Regions from separate parts of the Homo sapiens genome. Here region 2 is linked to region 1. The links are contacts of gene promoters, found by promoter capture Hi-C in human tissues and cell types (Jung and others, 2019). All regions are on one chromosome and are shown on one strand. Each heading gives the region's core, a stretch centred on a gene start or on the middle of the fragment in contact. The rest is flanking DNA. Distances are from core to core; before and after follow the strand shown.

Region 1 (3,712 bases), core at 818-3,317:
CAGCCTGTGAGTGCGAGAGAAGGAATGACTCTTACACCCTAGTAAGGGGATGCCCATAGCGGGTAGGGAGTCTTCACAGATGCACCCACAGACCCCCTACACTGAGGTCTATGACTCCATGAATTTGGCTGTGTTTTCATTTTTGATAAGCCCCTTTCCACTGCTAGGCCTCAGTTTCCATATATGTGAAGTGAGGAATGCGGACTGTGTTTTCTCTTGGCCTCCTTCCAGCTCTGACAGTCTGTGAATCTCCTGGAAGCCAGCTCTGGGTCCAGTCCTGTCTTGGGGAAATTAGACCAGAAAGGCACAGAGCATACACAAGAACCCAACAGCATCTTCTGACACAAGACCATACTCCCACTGGCACATAGTATCTTTGCTTACCTAATTATATGCATGGACACACAAACACACACATGTACACACCAGGCAAGAAAACTCACAACCGGGTCAGGCGCAGTGGCTTGCGCCTGTAACCACAGCACTTTGGGAGGCCGAGGCGGGTGGATCACCTGAGGTCAGGAGTTCGAGACCAGCCTGGCCAACCTGGTGAAACCCTGTCTCTACTAAAAATACAGAAATAGGCTCGGCGTGGTGGCACACACCTGTAATCCCAGCTACTCAGGAGGCTGAGGCAGGAGAATCACTTGAACCCCGGAGATGGAGGTTGCAGTGAGCCAAGATCACACCACTGCACTCCGGCCTGGGCAACAGAGTGAGACTTTGTCTCGAAAAAACAAAAGAAAACCTGCAACCATTGACACATGCAGCCACCCACACCCTTTCTTGTGGTCACCTCACCGTACTCGGCACCATCACGTCCTAAACACAGTGTCCCATAATCATCATCTCACAAAATCTCAGTCCCAGACTTCTGCCTACCTTGAGCAGATGGGGCAACTGCTGGGTAACCAGCTCTTTGAACTCGTTGACGCTGAGGCTATCCTTCCGGCCCTCCTGCCTTGCAAAGGTGAAGAAGGTGGTGACCACGGTCTCAATGGACTCCTCTAGCTCTGTCAGTGGTTCTGCTGCCATTAGGACCCTGAGGCCAAAGCTGATGTCCTCAAGGGGCTAGCTGACCTTTGTCAGGGCTGACCTGTGGAAGAGAGAAGGAGCAGAGAGGGAGAGTCAGGGAGCCCCAAGATGCAGGAATGGTTCAGAAGGTCCCTGCCTTGGTGTTATCACATCAGTCTCAGCCTGGAGGGGGCATATGGGGAAAGAGGGAGAGGACAGGGGTTGAGCTTGGGGCAGCAGACCAGGCAACGGCATCTCAGTTTTGGTGGGGGCAGGAGATTCAGCTCCAGAAACCCCCTCTTCTGTAGGTCTCACAATCCGGGATCCTTTTTAAATGTCTGTGGCTTAGGGACCCCTCTGTGGTGATCCCTCGATCTGGAGACCCCTCTACTTGAGAGGAGGTCTTCAGTTGAAGGTCCTTCTTGGAGTCCTTCAAGTCTGGTGGCCCCTCTGTGGCGTGTCTGTCTCAAGAATCCCTTCTTGTCTCACCCAGACTCACAGGTCATAAGGTTGTTTGTCTCCAAAGCTTGTTTATGTTGGGCCCTGGTCTCCGGCCACTCGCATCCGCCCACACACACTCTAACCGCTCCTCCCAGCAGAGAAGCACAGGGTCTGGCAAATGTCCCCTGTGGTCAGAGCTGGCTCCGTCTGAACAGACCCATTTTCTCTGCCCCGCTCCACCCTTACCTCTCCTCAGCGGCAGCAGGGCAGAGTGCTGAACCCAGGACCCCACAGATCCTCCCCGCTCCTGTCTCCCGGTGACAAGGGTCCTGGAACGGGGCGTCTCTGACTCCCTGCTCCAGGACGGGTTTAGTACAGGCACTCACAACCCCCTGGGGTGCGGCGGGTGGGGCTGGAAGAGGCATTCTCTTTTCTGTCCACCCCGTCACACACTCCTGCACGCGCTGTTGCTCGATCATCCAAAGCTCCTTCCTGAATTCCTGTCTGAGCTGGCTCTGGGGGAGGGACCTGGGAGCCCAGGAAGAAAAAATGATCTCCAGCCTCCCTCCAGGGTCAGCCATGAGACTCACCCGGCAAGGAGATGGGGTAGAGTGAGCTGGAGCCTCAGGGCTGAGGTTTATAAGCAGCGGGGAAGGAGGAGAGAGCTGCTTCCAAGCCCGGAGGTGTCAAATTTCCGTGGTCGATTCTGAAGACCAGAGACAGCCCAATCAGGCCGCTTGCCCTGAGCCCTCAGGTCTGGACCCGGGCTCCCTGCCAGCCACACGAGCGCCCCCACTTGGTCAGGGAGAGGAGCTGCCTGGACAGATCTCGTTCGGCAGGGGTCCCAGGGTCCTAGTCCTCTCAATACTGGGGGCTGCTGCCACCATACCCATGTCTAATCAGGAGTGTGTATGCTGAGGGGGGAAGAGGGAGGCAACCAATCAAGGGAGCTCAACACTGAGAGGCCCAATCTGAGACACACACAGAGGCCCCTTGGAATGAGATCCCACAAAGGATGCTACAGACCAAGATCCCTCAGAGAACCCCAGGCTGAGGCCCCACACACAGAGGGGGATCCAGGTTGAGACCCCCAGAGAAGAGTCCTGGATTGAAATCCCTCTGTGGGTTCTCAGACTCCCAAGACTAAGTTTCTCACTGAGGGTCCTCTCAGTGAGGCCCCATGGAGGAGCCACAGACTAAGACCCCCTCAGCAGAATTCCCCCCTTACCGGGCTCAACCAGCACAGCCAGCCACAGGTACTGCAAGGCCCAGCTTGGGGTAAGACATCCAGTGTCCCTCCCAGGACCTCCTTCCCACCTCTTTCCCCTGCACCATCCACTGCTGCCTGGAGAGAAAGGAACGGGGCAAGCAAGGCTGGGAAAGAGACAAGGGCCGCCTGTTCCAGCCCAGGAGACAGAGGGCGCCTCTGTCTGCTCCTGGCCCCTTGCCCCACAGGGTGTTCGTCTGTGAAGGGGTGGAGTCGGTGGGGGGGTCAGCGGGGGAGGGACTGTTGAAGACAGGTCTCCACACACAGCTCCAGCAGCCACATTTGCAACCTTGGCCATCTGTCCAGAACCTGCTCCCACCTCAGGCCCAGGCCAACCGTGAGTACCCTGCCCCACTGGGCTAGTCCCTGGCCTGCCAGCTTCAGGGAGAGGGGTCTTCAGAAGGGCTCCAAGAGGCTGGGGACCATAGCACTGTGGAGCACTGAGGATCTGGGAGGAGTCAGTCAGGGTGAGGGCAGTTTGGGATTTGGGGGAGACAGGGTTTGGAAGGTGGTGATGAGAGACAAATGAACTGAAGGTCGGAGAGAGAGCTGGCAGCTCAGCAAAGGAGGAAGCCAGTGGGGAACCCACCATGAGCTTCCTGACCGCCTGGCCCTCCCACAGGGAGCCCTCAAGTCCCTGCCAAGGCCCCCTCTGTCTCCCAGGTGTTGGGAAGGGTCCCAGCCCTCCCCTGCCTCGCCTCCTGTGGGGTAAGAAGAGAGCAGATACAACAGCTGTTTCTGCCCCCACCTCTCCTGCCAGCCTTAGTCTCTGCCACCCCCACCCTGCCTTGCCAAGAGCTCAGGTCCCGGGGGAGTCTGGGGGTGGCAGGGCAAAGCTCCCATGATATGGGGAAGCAGAGATGTAGGGTGCTGTGCCCCTTCCCAACTCGACCTCCACAGGACCTCCCCTTTCTCCTCCTCCCATTTTTGGCCCAGACCTCTTGACTCCTCTTTCCCCCCATTCTTACCTCTTTGTTTCCCCATCTCCCC
Region 2 (4,000 bases), core at 634-3,133, 530 kb after region 1:
AGGAAAGTTTCCTTCAATCCTAGAAACCAGGCTTCTGATATCTAGGATGGAAAAGGTGCCTAAATTATGAGGTGTGAGTCCAACTCAAAATACCAAAAACATTCATAAATATTTTTATTCTTATTTATTATTATGTTTTTGAGACCGAGTCACTTTGTTGCCCAAGCTGAAGTGCAGCAGGGCGATCTCAGCTCACTGCAACATTCGCCTCCAGGGTTCAAGCGATTCTCCTGCCTCAGCCTCTCGAGTAGCTGAGATTACAGGTGTCTGCCACTATGCCCGACTAATTTTTGTATTTTTAGTAGGGATGGGCTTTCATCATGTTGGCCAGGCTGGTCTTGAACTCCTGACTTCAAGTGATCTGCCTGCCCCGGCCTCCCAAAGTGCTGGGATTACAGGCGTGAGCCACTGCGCCCGGCCGAATGTTTTTATTTTAAATAGAGACGGGGTCTCACTATGTTGATCCGGCTGGTCTCAAACTCCTGGCCTCAAGTAATCCTCCTGCCTTGGCCTCCCAAAGTGCTGGGATTACAGGCGTGAGCCACCATGCCTGGCCTCATTAATATTTTTGGAGTGATAGAAGAAATGGCTTTCAATGCTGGAAAGATGCCTTGCATCACCCTCACGGTCAGGAAACACACACGTCACACTGGATCATCTTACAAGCTCACTTTCCTTATACTTCCTCATAAAATGAGAGGTGAATTTATACTCGGAACAAACCTCATTGCTTCTCCTAGGAGATGGCAAAGGGGTATCTACTCCATCTAGGATGAATGCACTGGCATCCTGAAGCTCACTTCGGTTAGGTTCTCTCATACCTTAGGCAACCACATAACCCATCATTGGGTCCTCTCACACCAGAAAATCATGTCTCTTCATCTTCAGTCAGGAAGTCATTATCCCGGAGTTGTGTGTACCCCCTGTCCTCACACTTCAAGCGGGTACCCTTTTATAAATGGGGCAATTTTGATAATACAGACAGATCTCATCTCCACCCACGATAAATCTTCTCATATTCCCAGAAGTTTACACTTCATAGTCTCTGGGCCTCACTTTCCTCGTCTGTGAAATGGGAGTAATAGTACTTACTTCATAAGACTGCAAAAAGCGAATGAGTTAACACATGTAAAGTGCTTAGTTAACCCCCAATACTTGGCTGTTGTGTTTTAAGTCCTTCTCACATTGAATAGCTCATCTATAGTTAGTGGGGACCCTCGCACCCCAAGTTTTCCTGTTCCTACAGAAATTTCCTCAGATATGGGGAACTTCCTCTTACTCTAGTTGTTTACATTGGAAGTCATCAGTACCTGTGGCCTCCAACACAGGGCTTCCCTTTACCCTGACGGCTGCTCATAGTGACCACCCCTTCCCAACACACACAGAGAAGAGGCCAGTCCCACATCCCGAGAATTCCTCACACGTCTGGAAGATTGTCACACAGCTGGAGGATATACCACATGAGTAGGACACGCCACACCCAAGGGTCTGCTCCTCGCCACCTTCACTGACACCACACTCTCCTCCCCTACCGGCTAGGCCCCTTCACGCGGCCCCACACGGTATTCCTGTGGGATCTTACAGAGGGAACCCCCCTCACCCTTACTGGATGGTAGTGAGGGTGCATATCCTTGTCACCCACCACCCCTCACCAAGTGTAGCAGCCCCGCTGGGCCTCCAGCAGGAAAGGCACCCGGCCTGGCTCTCGGCCGAAGGGTAGCAACACCTGTGGCACGTTAAGTTTGTTGGCCAGGGTCCCACGCAAAACCAGAAACAACAACAGGAGGCGGTGTAGACGCAAGAAGAAAAAGAGCCCGAAGCCTCGGCGTCTTGATGACGCCGGACAGCCAGTCATGGCGACTGCCAGGTCTCGGGTTCCCGCTCAACTACAGCCGGCTCACAGCTCCATCAGCCAATCCACAGGCGTGACGTCAGCAGAGGGGGATGGGACCTGCTTCTTGCTCGGATGTGTGGGCATTTTTAAATGCAGTCCTTCAGCAAGCCAATATAATGGAAACTTTTGGCACAAACCCAGCTAAAACACCTCAAACTCTCTTAAAGGGCTTTCCTAAATACTGGATGGCAGACCTTTTTAACAGTAAGGAACAAGCAGAAAAGTCTAAAAAAAACCCTTTAATTTCTTCCAGTTTTAATTTCTTCTGTTGCACACTGTTTATCTTAACACCACACCCTCCGCCCGACAAAAAAACTTTTTGCAATGATTTCCAGTTAGCATTGGTCCATGCCTATCAACGGAAAATTGTGCAGTCTCTGGGATAAACAGCTCGACTTTGTCAAGGGAACCGTGTATTTTTACTAGAAGTCAGATTCACGTCCGGCCTCCAGGCCAGAATGCAGGAAATGCCAGACACTGGCGTCTCAAAAGCAGCTTTCAAAGTTATCCACTCACACAGCCGGCCTCTAAGCAAATACTCTTGAGAGCACTTGTTGTTTTCTCCAAATATCCAAACAGAATATAAACTCAAAGCTGTTTCAGTACAGTTGGTTAAAACCACGCATTTATAGTAGTGATCAGCATTATATATTGTTTTAAGGAGCATAAATCCATAGTTTATAAGGATTGATATGGTTGTGAAGGAAAATGTATATAGTTCAGCCTGAGATGTCAGTGTTAACCTATAAAAGGCCCAGCACATTAAGTGTTCTTTCTAATCTTCATGTTTACTCTGACAATACTTATCTCCATTTTACAGATGATAAAACTAAACATTTGCTCTATATTAAATCCTGTTGCTCCAGCTGGGTGCGGTGGCTCACGCCCGTAATCCCAGCATTTTGGGAAGCTGAGGCAGGTGGATCACCTGAAGGTCAGGAGTTCGAGACCAGCCTGGCCAACATGGTGAAGCCCTGTCTCTACTTAAAATATAAAAAATTACCCGGGCATGGTGGCAGGTGCCTGTAATCCCAGCTACTCGGGAGGCTGAGGCAGGAGAATCTCTTGAACCAGGAGGCGGAGGTTGCAGTGAGCCGAGATCGAGCCATTACGCTCCAGCCCAGGCAACAAGAATGAAACTTCATCTCAAAAATAATAATAATAAAGAATAAATCCTGTTGCTACCACCCACAAAGATGCTATTTTTAACCCAAACCTCATAGCTTCTGTGGAGAAAGCACATTTAGTTTTAATAAATAAAAGTCAAATAGGTCTGAGGGTTGGAGGGACTGGTTCTTTATTTCAAAAAGACACTTGTCAATATTCAGTATCAAAACAGTTGCACTATTGATTTCTCTTTCTCCCAATCGGCCCCAAAGAGACCACATAAAAGGAGAGTACATTTTAAGCCAATAAGCTGCAGGATGTACACCTAACAGACCTCCTAGAAACCTTACCAGAAAATGGGGACTGGGTAGGGAAGGAAACTTAAAAGATCAACAAACTGCCAGCCCACGGACTGCAGAGGCTGTCACAGCCAGATGGGGTGGCCAGGGTGCCACAAACCCAAAGCAAAGTTTCAAAATAATATAAAATTTAAAAAGTTTTGTACATAAGCTATTCAAGATTTCTCCAGCACTGACTGATACAAAGCACAATTGAGATGGCACTTCTAGAGACAGCAGCTTCAAACCCAGAAAAGGGTAATGAGATGAGTTTCACATGGCTAAATCAGTGGCAAAAACACAGTCTTCTTTCTTTCTTTCTTTCAAGGAGGCAGGAAAGCAATTAAGTGGTCACCTCAACATAAGGGGGACATGATCCATTCTGTAAGCAGTTGTGAGGGGGTAGAGATGGGACAAAATTTTGGTCTCAGAGGTCTTACCATCTTAATTTGGTAACTTCTAATGAAAAAAATAAAAAATAGAAATAACATTATCCAAAGATATCTTAAAGCTGAAAACTTGAACAGCACATTTTTTGTTTTTGTTGTTGTTTGGCTAACTCCTCCTGGAATCACCTTTCTGGTTTAGCTAGTACTTTGTACAGAACAATGAGGTTTCCCACAGCGGAGTCTCCCTGGGCTCTGTTTGGCTCTCGGTAAGG

Evidence for each region. The method cuts DNA at HindIII sites, captures the fragments that hold promoters and counts their contacts. A contact is called where the count stands out against the background at its distance.
Region 2: the fragment with the promoter of NUP210L here is called in contact with the fragment with the promoter of S100A13 in region 1 in 2 of the 25 tissues and cell types used here (H1 embryonic stem cells and ovary).

What each region holds. Positions count from the first base shown.
Region 1 is chr1:153,625,438-153,629,149 of GRCh38, forward strand. It overlaps S100A13 (S100 calcium binding protein A13), which reads right to left and starts at 2,068. Exons shown (of 3, transcript NM_001024211.2): 1 at 2,046-2,068; 2 at 883-1,096. The coding sequence starts at 1,035. S100A1 (S100 calcium binding protein A1) reads left to right here and starts at 2,997. Exons shown (of 3, transcript NM_006271.2): 1 at 2,997-3,059. RefSeq lists enhancers at 1,490-2,315, 3,142-3,712. The HindIII fragment of the contact is 14,694 bases long and covers 1-3,712 here.
Region 2 is chr1:154,153,190-154,157,189 of GRCh38, forward strand. NUP210L (nucleoporin 210 like) reads right to left here and starts at 1,884. Exons shown (of 40, transcript NM_207308.3): 1 at 1,653-1,884. The coding sequence starts at 1,855. It also overlaps a transcript of TPM3 not described here. RefSeq lists enhancers at 1,217-1,717, 1,718-2,218 and a silencer at 2,825-3,002. The HindIII fragment of the contact is 16,458 bases long and covers 1-4,000 here.